2 separate regions of the Homo sapiens genome follow, and region 2 is linked to region 1. The links are contacts of gene promoters, found by promoter capture Hi-C in blood cells and fetal thymus (Javierre and others, 2016). All regions are on one chromosome and are shown on one strand. Each heading gives the region's core, a stretch centred on a gene start or on the middle of the fragment in contact. The rest is flanking DNA. Distances are from core to core; before and after follow the strand shown.

Region 1 (5,644 bases), core at 1,324-3,823:
CTCCCAAGTAGCTGGGATTACAGGTGCCTGCCATCATGTCTGGTCTAATTTTTGTATTTTTAGTAGAGACGGAGTTTCACCATGTTGGCTAGGCTGGTCTCGAACTCCTGACCTCAGGCGATATGCCTGTCTCGGCCTCCCAAAGTGCTGGGATTTCAGGCATAAGCGACCGCGCCAGGACTGTTTATCTTGAGGCAGAGTCTTGCTCTGGCACCCAGGCTGGAGTGCAGTGGCATGATATTGGCTCACTGTAACCTCCACCTCCTGGGTTCAAGCAATTCTCCTGCCTCAGCCTCCCTAGTGGCTGGGATTACAGGCGTTCACCACTCGATCCAGCTAATTTTTTGTATTTTTAGTAGAGATGGGGTTTTGCCATGTTGGCCAGCCTGGTGTTGAACTCCTGACCTCAAGTGATCTGCCTGCCTCGGCCTCTCAAAGTGCTGGGATTACAGGTGTGAGCCACTGTCCCCGGCCTGCAACCTCTCTGACCTCCTCCTCTTCCTCACTCTGTTTCACCCACACCGTCCTCCTGGCTGTTCCTTGAACACCCCAGGTATATTCTCTGCTCCAGCTGGTCCTGCCACCTTCTATGCTAGTTCCTGCAAACATCCACTCAGTTACTCCCTCTCCTCCAAGTCTTTTTTTTTTTCTTTTTTTTTTGGAGACGGAGTCTTGCTCTGTCGCCCAGGCTGGAGTGCAGTGGCGAGATCTCGGTTCACTGCAAGCTCCGCCTCCTGGGTTCACGCCATTCTCCTGCCTCAGCCTCCCGAGTAGCTGGGACTACAGGCGCCCACTACCACAGCCAGCTAATTTTTTGTATTTTTAGTAGAGACAGGGTTTCACTGTGTTAGCCAGGATGGTCTCAATCTCCTGACCTCATGATCCGCCCGCCTCGGCTTCCCAAAGTGCTGGGATTACAGGCGTGATCCACCACGCCCAGCCCCACCTGGCCCATTTTTGTATTTTTTTAGTAGAGATGGGATTTCACCATATTGGCCAAGGTGGTCTTGAACTCCTGACCTCAGGTGATCTGCCTGCCTCGGCCTCCCAAAGTGCTGGGATTACAGATGTGAGCCACCACACCCAGCCTGGAACTGGGATCCTAACCCAGGTTTATTTGACTGCAAAGCACTTAACCCAGCAAGGCAGGAGAGCAGGATGGTTAAGAGCACAGAATTGGGCTGGGCGCAGTGGCTAAACGCCTGTAATCCCAGCACTTTGGGAGGCCGAGGCGGGCGGATCACTCGAGGTCGGGAGTTCAAGACCAGCCTGACCAACACGGAGAAACCCCGTCTTACTAAAAATACAAAAGTAGCCAGGCGTGGTGGCACATGCCTGTAATCCCAGCTACTCTGGAGGCTGAGGCAGGAGAATCGCCTGAACTCGGGAGGTAGAGGTTGCGGTGAGCCAAGATCGTGCCATTGCACTCCAGCGTGGGCAACAAGAGTGAAACTCCGTCTAAAAAAATAAAAAGAGCACAGAATCTAGCCAGGCACAGTGACTCCCACTTGTAATCCCAGCAATTCAGGAGGCTTGGACAGGAGGATTGCTTGAGCCCAGGATCTCGAGGCTGCAGTGAGCTATGAAGGCACCACTGCACTCCAGCCTGTTTTTTTGAGACAGAGCAAGACCTTGTCCCCTCAAAAAAAAAGAGTACAGAGTCTGGAATTGCAAGACTGGAGTGAGCAGCAGTGCCACATTTTAAAATAAAAGCTCTTTTTTCTTTATTTTTTTCCCCAGTCAGGATTTAGTTTGTATCAACAGGACCCCTTTGCCCCCTGCTGGTCAGACTTGGAGCCCCAGCTCCTCCTTGTGGGATGGAGTAGGGGGTCCTCCCTTGTGCCTGGCGCTCAGCCCTCTGCAGAGCATCACAGCTGAATGCGAAGCCCAGAACCCCACTGCAAGCTGGCTTCAGGGGCGTGGCTTTTCTTGTTGCCAGCCAGCCCAGTGCTTAACCCAGGTCTCAGAAGGCAGGAACTGAGCCCCCTAGGTCCCAGAGCCCCGGGGGCAGGCCAGTTTCTCAAGACCCTCTGTCCACTGCTGGTCCTGAGACCCTCACTCAGTTGAAGTCAGGGCTGAGTTTGTTCAGAAGCCCCAGCATGTGAAGGCCCCCAGCTGGCCTGGGCCAGCGCTCACCCTGGGGGAGCCTTGGGGACACATCTCATGTCCCCAGTGAGCTCTGCACTCTGCCTTCCTGGCCCTGTTGCCCACTGTGGCTCTGACCCCACTCCGGCCGCCCGTCCCGGAGTCCCACTCACCGTGTTTCACGTTGTCCTTCCACTCGCCCACATAGTAGTCGCCATTCACAGCGTATACCTGGCTCCGCAGGCCGTTCCTCTGGGCCTTCCGGTCCCACCCCTTCCACAGGGACTCCGACTTTTTTGGGCACTTAGAGACTGGCATGGTGGCTGCTTCTGCAAGGCTGGAGGGTGCTGGAAAGGGGTTAGGGACATCTGGGGCTCAGCGCGCCCCGTGTAATGCCGGGATCCTGAGCTCAAGTGGGGAGAGTCATGTGTGTTCTGAGTCCCTGGGGCAGGTGAACAGCCCTTAGTGGGGATCCTTTAGTGCTGGACTGACCTTTGGTTGGCCCCTCCCTTGCCTCTCCTGGGGCCCCCTCCCAGGGGGTCTGATGGCACAATTACTTGGGAATCTAGGGAAACCAGTAGAGCAGGAGGGTTTGTGATGGCATCAGGGAGAAGCTGCCCCCAGGGAGGGGGTGGCGGTCATATATACATATATATATATATATATATTTTTTTTTTTATGTCTTCTAAATATTTTTATTTATTTATGTATTTATTTATTTATTTAGAGATGGAATCTTGCTTTGTTGCCCAGGCTGGAGTGCAGTGGCACCATCTCGGCTTACTACAACCTCTGCCTCCTGGGTTCAAGTGATTCTCGTGCCTCAGCCTCCTAAGTAGCTGGTATTACAGGCGCCCACCACCACGCCTGGCTAATTTTTGTATTTTTAGTAGAGACGGGGGTTTCACCATGCTGGGCAGGTTGGTCTCAATTTCCTGATCTCAAATGATCCATCCACCTCAGCCTCTCCAAGTGCTGGGATTACAGGCATGAGCCACTGAGCCAAATATGAATCCAAAATATGAACCCAAAATATGGGTTACATATTTTGACAATCACACCTAGGAGTAGGGAAAAATAATTCCAGGCAAAGAAAATAGGCAGAGCAAAAGCTGGGAGTGGGGAAACAATCTCAGGTCCTAAATTCTATGCCGTTGGGATTTTTTCTTCTCCCATTTCCAAATATCACATGTACTATTAATCTTTATATGTAAATTAACTCACTTGGCAGAGGTTGCAGTAAGCCGAGATCATGCCGCTGCACGCCAGCTTGGATGACAGAGTGAGAACTTTTCTCAAGAAGAAAATAAAAATAAGTTAACTCACTTTAAAAAAATCAATACATATATTGAAAAAAGGAGGGCCAGGCGCAGTGGCTCATGCCTGTAATCCCAGCACTTTGGGAGGCCGAGGCGGGTGGATCACCTGAGGTCAGGAGTTCGAGACCAGCCTAGTCAACATGGTGAACCCTTGTCTCTACTAAAAATACAAAAATTAGCCAGGCCTGGTGGTACGCGCCTGTAATCCCAGCTACTCAGGAGGCTGAGGCATGAGAACAGCTTGAATCCAGGAGGCGGAGGTTGCAGTGAGCCGAGATTGCACCATTGCACTACAGGTTGGGAGACAGAGCAAGACTCAGTCTTAAAAAATAATAATAAAATAGGCCGGGCTCAGTGGCTCACGCCTGTAATCCCCAGCACTTTGGGAGGCCGAGGCGGATGGATCACCCGAGGTCAGGAGTTCAACACCAGCCTGGCCAACATGGCGAAACCCTGTCTGTACTAAAAATACAAAAATTAGCTGGGTGTGGTGGCGGGCGCCTGTAATCCCAGCTACTCGGGAGGCTGAGGCAGGAGAATCGCTTGAACCAGGGAGGAGAAGGCTGCAGTGAGCCGAGATTGCACCACTGCACTCCAGCCTGGGCGAGACAGAGTGAGACTCTGTCTCAAAAAAAAAAAAAGACTGGGCGCGGTGGCTCACGCCTGTAATCCCAGCACTTTGGGAGGCCGAGGCGGGTGGATCACGAGGTCAGGAGATTGAGACCATCCTGACTAACATGGTGAAACCCCGTCTCTACTAAAAATACAAAAGATTAGCCGGGCGTGGTGGCGGGCGCCTGTAGTCCCAGCTACTCGGGAGGCTGAGGCAGGAGAATGGCATGACCCGGGAGGCGGAGCTTGCAATGAGCCGAGATCGCGCCACTGCACTCCAGCCTGGGCAACAGAGCAAGACTCCATCTCAAAAAAAAAAAAAAATTAGAAGAATGGAGACTTTACGTATCATTATTATAAATAGAAAACCAGTAGCAGGTACCCTAAGGCAATAATAAATGTAAAAATGAAAACACTGAAAGAACCAATTTAAGTCTTAGCTAGATGCTATGGCTTAGAGTTGACTGAGCTCCAAGGTCTCTGTTAAAAATAGGAATTAGCAAGGCCGGGAGCGGTGGCACACGCCTGTAATCCCAGCACTTTGGGAGGCCGAGGTGGGCAGATCACGAGGTCGGGAGTTCGAGACCAGCCTGGCCAACATAGTGAAACCGCGTCTCTACTCAAACTACAAAAATTAGCCGGGCGTGGTTGACGACGCCTGTAATCCCAGCTACTCGGGAGGCTGAGGCAGGAGAATCGCTTGAAACCGGAAAGCGGATGTTGCAGTGAGAGCTGAGATCTGCCACTGCACTCAGCCTGGGCAAAAAGAGTGAAACTCCGTCTCAAAAAAAAAAAAAAAGATTAGCAAATGTTAAAAGAGGTGTTAATGCCATGTAATCACCAGACTGACTCCTCTTGGCTTACTCAGAATTGCAAGAGAACCCAGACTCTAATAACTTTCTTATGATGTCATTGGGTGTTACTTCACACCTCATCAGTGTAACCTAAAATCACCCTCCATCCCACAGTTTAGGGAACATAGGTTCTACTCCGGAGGAGGCTGTAGTCCTAACACCTGAGCTGTTGACAGGAAATGAAAGTCGGCCCAGGTTGTTTTGATGCTGAGTAACAAAGACCGGCCTGGCGGCATGGGGGCTGCCGCCTGCAATCCCAGCACGTTGGGAAGCTGATGCGGGAGGATCACATGAGTCCGAGAGTTGGAGACCAGCCTGGGCAACCATAGTGAGACCTTATCTCTACAAAAAAAAAAAAAATTAGCTGGGCATGGTGGCGCAGGCCTGTAGTCCCAGCTGCGCGGGAGGCTGAGGTGGGAAGATGCCTTGATCCTAGGAGGTCGGGACTGCAGTGAGCTATCATCCGGCGCCACTGCATTCCAGCCTGGGCGGGAGACCCTGTCTCAAGGGAAAAAAAAACAAAACAAAAAACCCACAGTGGAAGAGGGAGGAGCCGGGAACCAGACGGCTTGGGGTCAGTCAGGAGTCCTGGGCCTGCCCCACCTGCGCCCGGCTCACCTGCGCTCACCTGCGGGATCGCAGCATCCAGCCTCAATGTCCGTCAGCTGCGCGCGCCGCGGGCCCGGCCGGGGTCGCTATGGCAACGCGCCGCCCCAGCCTACCAACCAAGCAGTGCCCGCCCCTTCCTGCCGAGACCCGGTAGCGGCAAAATTT
Region 2 (6,561 bases), core at 133-2,632, 110 kb before region 1:
GTAATTTGCTAACGGTTTTGGCTACCCACGTACCTCAAGGGGTACTGTGAGTTGAACTGCACTCCCCCAAAATATATGTTCAGTCCCTAATATCTGTGATACAGGGTCTTTGCTGACGTGATCAAGCTAGAATGAGATCATATGGGATTAGGGTAGGCCTAATAAGACAAGAGAATTTTTTTTTTTTTTTTTTTTTTTTGAGACAGAGTCTCACTCTGTTCCCCAGGATGGAGTTCAGTGGTACAATCTCAGCTCATTGCAACCTCTGCCTCCTGGGTTCAAGCGATTCTCCTGCCTCAACCTCCCGATTAGCTGGGATTACAGGCGCCTACCACCACTTCCGGCTAATTTTTTTGTATTTTTAGTAGAGACGGGGTTTCACCATTTTGCCCAGGCTGGTCTTGAACTCCTGACCTCAGGTGATCCACCCACCTCAGCCTCCCAAAGTGCTGGGATTACAGGCGTGAGCCACCGTGCCCAGCCATGACAAAGGAAATGTGGACACAGACACACAGAAGGAAGACAGCCACGTGAAGACGGAGGCAGAGATCAGAGTGACGCAGCTACAAGCCAAGGCGCACTAAGCACTGCCAGCCACCACCAGAAGCCAGAGAAGGCAAGGAAGGACCTGCCCCTAGAGACTTCAGGGGGAAATGTAGCCCTACAGACACCCTTAATTTTGGACTTCTAGCCTGCAGAAGTGTGAGAGAATAAACTTCTGTGGTTTTAAGCCACTCACTTTGTGGTACTTTGTTATGACAGCCTAGGAAACTAATCGAAGGGTTAGTGAGAGAATGACTGGGTATACCTACATGGCTCCATAAATGTGACATATTTACACAGGGGAGGGCTGGTCCCTCCCCTTGCCTCCCTCCCAGAGCCTGGTATAAGCGGATCACGGGGCCAACACCTTCTATAACGAAATCGCAGTTTACCTAGTAGCTTCACAAACAGAAAGGTGTCACCCACTGATGACCTCATACCACTTCATCCTAAATACCGTATTTCTTGGTTACTTGTTTCTTGTCTTTCCACCCTGCTGCTCTGTGAGTGCCGTGAGGGCAGGAGGCTTGCCTGTCTTGATCGCTACTCTAGTCCAGATTTCTAGAACAGAGACTGGTGCAGGCTAGGAGCTCACTCTTTGTCGCATGAGGAATGAGTGCTGTTATTTACTTTTATGTTCTGTGTGGCATCTGACACACGACTTCACAGACAAATGGCAGGTGAACTAAAGACCTGACCTGGGGGTGGTTCTGGGTGGGCACGTGTAACAAAAAAGATGAAGCCATGAAGCCCCACCTGGAATCACCTGGTAGGTCCTGAGCAGCCCTGGGACAGCACGGCTCAACACAGAAGGACAGACATGTGTGGAGAAGGCCTGTGTTTCCTTTTCTTTTTCTTTTTTTTTTTTTTTTGAGACGGAGTCTCACTCTGTTGCCCAGGCTAGAGTACAGTGGTGCGATCTCGGCTCACTGCAGCCTCCGCCTCTTGGGTTCAAGCGATTTTCCTGCCTCAGCCTCCCAAGTAGCTGGGACTACAGGCGCATGCCACCATGCCCCAGCTAATTTTTGTATTTTTTGTAGAGACGGGGTTTCCTCATGTTGGCCAAGATGGTCTCAAACTCCTGACGTCAAGTGATTTGCCCGCCTCGGCCTCCCAAAGTGCTGGGATTACAGGCGTGAGACACTGCGCCCAGCCTAATTTTTGTATTTTTAGTAGAGATGGGGTTTAGCCATGTTGGCCAGGATGGTCTCGAATTCCTGACCTCAAGTGATTTGCCCACCTCAGCCTCTGAAAGTGCTGGGATTACAGGCATGAACCATGGCACCCAGCCTCCTTTTCTGAGGAATAACCATGCCTCCCACTGCCATCGCCGCCCTCCCCAGCACCTCCTAGGCACCCTCTTGGCCTCCGCTACTTTGCAGCTTTTCACATCACAGATGCCACTTGGGACCAGTGTTCAAGACTCCCAGTCAGGCCAGGGCCAAGCCAGGGTCCCCGCTGACTACACCTCAGCCTGCTCCGCCCTCTGATGCAAGGGAGTCAGGACTTAAGGGACTGGCTTAACTCAGCTGTATGCCTGCCTCAGACCAGGGAAGGGCTGTGGGGAGCAGCTGGGGCTGAAGTCATAGGGGGAAGCGTATAGGCAAGAGGCCTGGGCAGGCCAAGTGACCGTCTTAGGAGCAGAAGGTCGGGAGGCTTGGTTCTAAGAAGAGTTTCCTTAGTGTGCCGGGAGCTCTGAGCAGCTCCCCAGGTGTCCTGGAAGCTGGACTTCCAGGTCTATGGGAGGGGTGGGAGGGGAAGTGGTGGGAGGAGGAAGGAAAGTCAGTTCTGTTGGGCACCTGGGCTTCACGGACCTCCCCTCCCCCAGGGAAACAGAAATGGACAGGTCACCTGTTCATGCCACACAGCTGGGGTCCAGCCCCCACGGGGCAGCAGGAAACACAGACGTGACAGAACACTACCCAGAGTGGCACGGTGATAGCAACAGAGGGGACCAGGGAGGCAGGAGATGTAGGGAGAATCCAGAGAGTGAAAGAGACTTAAAATGCAGCTCAACCAGGCCAGGTGCAGTGGCTCATGCCTGTAATCCCAGCACTTTGGGAGGCCGAGGCAGGAGGATCACCTGAGGTCGGGAGTTCGAGACCAGCCTGACCAACATGGAGAAACTCCGTCTCTACTAAAAAAAACACAAAATTAGTCAGGCATGGTGGCGCATGCCTGTAATCCCAGCTACTCGGAAGGCTGAGGCAGGAGAACTGCTTAAACCCGGGAGGCAGAGGTTGAGATGAGCTGAGATTGTGCCACTGCACTCTAGCCTGAGCAACAAGAGCAAAACTCCATCTCAAAAAAAAAAAAAAAGGAGTAACATCTATGATATATATATGAAACAAGTAGAAATTTGATCATTGAAAATGGGTATTTAATAATTTTAAGGAGTCACTGTGTTTTTATATGTTTTTATTTAGGAGACGTCTCGCTCTATCACCCAGGCTGGAGTGCAATGGTGCCATCATGGTTCCCTGCAGCCTCGACCTGTTGGGCTCAAGCGATCCTCCGACCTCAGCCTCCCAAGGAGGTTGGGACTATGGGCATGAGTCACCATGCCTGGCTTTATTTTCTTTTGTAGAGACAGGGTTTCACTCTGTTTGAGACCAGGCTGGTCTCAAACTCCTGGCCTCAAGTGATCCTACTGCCTCAGCCTCCCAAAGCACTGGGATGACAGGCATGAGCCACCTCACCCAGCCTGGACTGACCCATTTCCAGAACTCAGTTGCCTTGTGTGTAAAGGCAGGAAGAAACTGACTTTATACTTTTTCTTTCCTTCACCACAGAACCCCTTCTTCAAACAGAAGCTTTGATGACAGCCAAATACACATAAATAAAAACAAAACAAGCAGCTCAGGCTGATGCAGGAGGTGGGTGGGGGGTGCTCAGAATTCAGACCTAGATCCCTGGGGTTTCCCTTTGAAATTCACTGGGTTGGGGCATTTTTGGGTCCTTTCCCAGGGGCGAGGCACTGAGTTTCAGTTCCTGAATACTCGGATCACTTCCCTTAAATGTATAAAGTGGGCAGGGGCAGGGGCAGTGGGGGCAGAGGAAGAGACGGGGGCCGCCAGTCCCTTTTGGCCTGAGCTGAGAGATGAAGAATGAGCCCTCCAGCCTCCCGGTCTGATCTGCCACAGGAGCAAAGGGAACCAGGCACACAGGCTGAGTCTCTAAGCAAGAGGTTTGGCACCGGGGAGGAGGCAGGTAGCCTAAAGGGATGGAGGGGACAGATCAGTGCCAAGAATGGAATGCAGCCCTCCCAGCCTTTAGGAGCAGCCATCCCTAGAGCAGCTGACAGGGACAAGCGTCCCTTCAGACCTGCAAGGGATCCACACTGCTGGGGCTCTCGGGTTCCTGAAGTCAGTGGGTTACAGGAGAAATTTTCCACATGGGGCAGTGCCTGGAGTTCCTAGGCAGGCCAGCAGCCTCCCTCCCTCCGCCGCCCACCCACCCCAGGATCATCGGTGTTCTGGCTCCCGGGCTGCACACACATCCAACAGGTTCCAGCTGCGGAAATTAGTCCATGGCCCTGTGGCCCCTGCTTTGAAGGTTCCATCCGTCAGCTCCGAAAGCCTCGGGCTCGGGGCCAGGACGAGGCTGCTGAAAGTCATCTTGAAGGCTAATGTGAAACATACACGGGCGCGACCCCAAACTCCCCAGAGCCCGGCTCTTCCGAGAGCTCACAGAACTCTTCCACATCACAGTTCTGGAACCTTCTCCAGCATCCTCACATTTCTGGACTGGTTTTGTATTTTGTTCCTCATCCGTGTCACACAGGTAGCACTGATTAGCAAGAGCACTGGTCACAGGTTCAAATCCGACTCTGCTCTACTGTTTTGAAATAGCAGTGAGGCCTGAGTTCGAGTGATACGCCCGCCTCAGCCTCCCAAAGTGCTGGGGTTACAGGGGTGCACCATGGCGCCTGGCCCCTCTCCCTGCATTTCTATCTGTCCTGGCAATTGGATGCCTCCCCTACCTGCCGCTCTGGCCTTGACCTCTCTCATGAGATCCAACTCAATGTGCCCGGAACCACACCCATCTATGTCCAGCCCCAAGTTGCTTTTCTTCTGGGGGTCTATTGGAAGCATTGTGTTCTCCCAATCACTGAAAGTCAAACCTACATGTGACTCTGATGTGCCAAGCACTATCTGAGCAACTCAAAAATAATTTGTCTACAGGCCTCAGTTTTTCCCATTTGTGAAATGGGGAAGCAGGACTGGAAGAACTCTAAGACTCCTTCCCGAGCTTAAAATGGAAAAAGTCTATGATTTTAAACCAACTTTAGGCCGGGAGCGGTGGCTCATGCCTGTAATCCCAACACTTTGGGAGGCTGAGGTAGGCGGATCACCTGAGGTCAGGAGTTCGAGACCAGCCTGGCCAACATGGCGAAACCCTGTCTCTACTAAAAATACAAAAATTAGCCGGGCGTGGTGGTGCGAGCCTATAATCCCAGCTACTCAGGAGGCTGAGGCAGGAGAAGCTTGAACCTGGGCGGCAGAGGTTGCAGCGAGCCGAGATCAAGCCACTGCACTCCAACATGGGTGACTTTTTTTCCATGACTCTGTCTTGGGGAAAAAAAAAACTTTAAAAAGGCCTGGCCAGCACAGTAGTTCACGCCTGTAATCCCAGCTCTTTGGGAGGCCAAGGCGAACAGATCACCTGAGGCCAGGAGTTTGAGACCAGCCTGGCCAACGTGGCAAAACCCCATCTCTACTAAAAATACAAAAAATTAGCCGGGCGTGGTGGTATGAGCCTGTAATCCCAGCTACTCAGGAGGCTGAGCCAGGAGAATCATTTGAACCTGGGAGGCGGAAGTTGCAGTGAGCTGAGATGGGGTCACTGTACTCCAGCCTGAGCAACAGAGTGAGACTCTGTCTCAAAAAAAAAGTCTGGGGACAAGTCAGCCAGCTTTGATTTCCAAGGGGTGAGAACTTAGTTTTTCTCCAAAACACAGTCCATCAAGGGCAAGATCCACAGCTCCTGACTAGCACCAGGCTAGACACCATACAGACACCCAGTAAATCTGTAAGGGAAGAAAGCATGGAGGAGGAGGAGGAGGAAGGGGGGAGGAAGAGAAAGAGGAGGAGGAAGAGAGGGGGGAGGAGGAGGGGAAAGAGATAACATGGGCTTTGAAGACACCCAGGGCCAGGTGCAGTCCTGGCTCCACTGCCTACCAGCTGTGAGGTTCGATCCCTCCAAGCCTCAGATGCCCCACCTGGAAAAGTGAATGCCTAATTCATATGACTACTGAGGAGAACAAAGTGAATCCCTATGGCACATATGCGATAAAAGATAGGTGATTATTAGTATAATTGCATGAATACCGAATGAAGTCATTTGTCATGAAGGTTCAAGAAAAGGGCCAAAGAAAGCATCAGTTGGTTTGGATTCTCTCATTAGAGAGAAATCCGATAAAGACATAATATGTGGGCCCTGGTGCAATGGCTCTCGCCTGTAATCCCAGCTACTTGGAAGGCTAAGGTGGGTGGATCGCTTAGGCCCGTGAGTTTGCGAGCAGCCTGGGCAACATAGCGAGACTCATCTCTACAAAAAATAAAAAATAACAACAATTAGCCGTGCATGCCCATAGTCCCAGCTACTAGGGAGGCTGAGGCAGCAAGATCACTTGAACCCAGGAGGTCAAGTCTGCAGTGAGGTGTGATTGTGCCACTGCCTGGGCGACAGAGTGAGATGCTGTCTCAAAAAAACAAAAAAAGAAGGCCGGGCTCGATGGCTCACGCCTGTAATCCCAGCACTTTGGGAGGCCGAAATGGGTGGATCACTTGAGCCCAGGAGTTCGAGACCAGCCTGGCCAATATGGTGAAACCCCATCTCCACTAAAAATACAAAAATTAGCCGGGCGTGGCGGCGGCTGCCCGTAATCCTGGCTACTCGGGAGGCTGAGGCACGAGAACTGCTTGAACTCAGGAGGTGGAGGTTACAGTGACCCAAGATCGCACCACTGCACTTCAGCCTGGGTGATAGAGTGAGACTCTGCCAAAAAAAAAAGTC

Evidence for each region. Contacts are between HindIII fragments. The CHiCAGO score rates a contact against its expected background, and 5 or more counts as called.
Region 2: a fragment that was not itself captured here is called in contact with the fragment with the promoter of MORN3 in region 1 in 1 of 17 cell types (total B cells); the score reaches 5.6 in total B cells.

Annotation. Positions count from the first base shown.
Region 1 is chr12:121,667,081-121,672,724 of GRCh38, forward strand. MORN3 (MORN repeat containing 3) reads right to left here and starts at 2,574. Exons shown (of 6, transcript NM_173855.5): 1 at 2,259-2,574. The coding sequence starts at 2,403. The region is part of intron 1 of LOC105370034 (a long non-coding RNA gene); the gene reads left to right. RefSeq lists enhancers at 4,711-5,637, 5,201-5,300 and a silencer at 5,511-5,560. The HindIII fragment of the contact is 76,456 bases long and covers 1-5,644 here.
Region 2 is chr12:121,557,057-121,563,617 of GRCh38, forward strand. All of the region lies in intron 4 of KDM2B (lysine demethylase 2B), which reads right to left. Among named protein-coding and RNA genes, the nearest start is that of KDM2B-DT, 20 kb to the right of the region's middle. The HindIII fragment of the contact is 3,944 bases long and covers 1-3,354 here.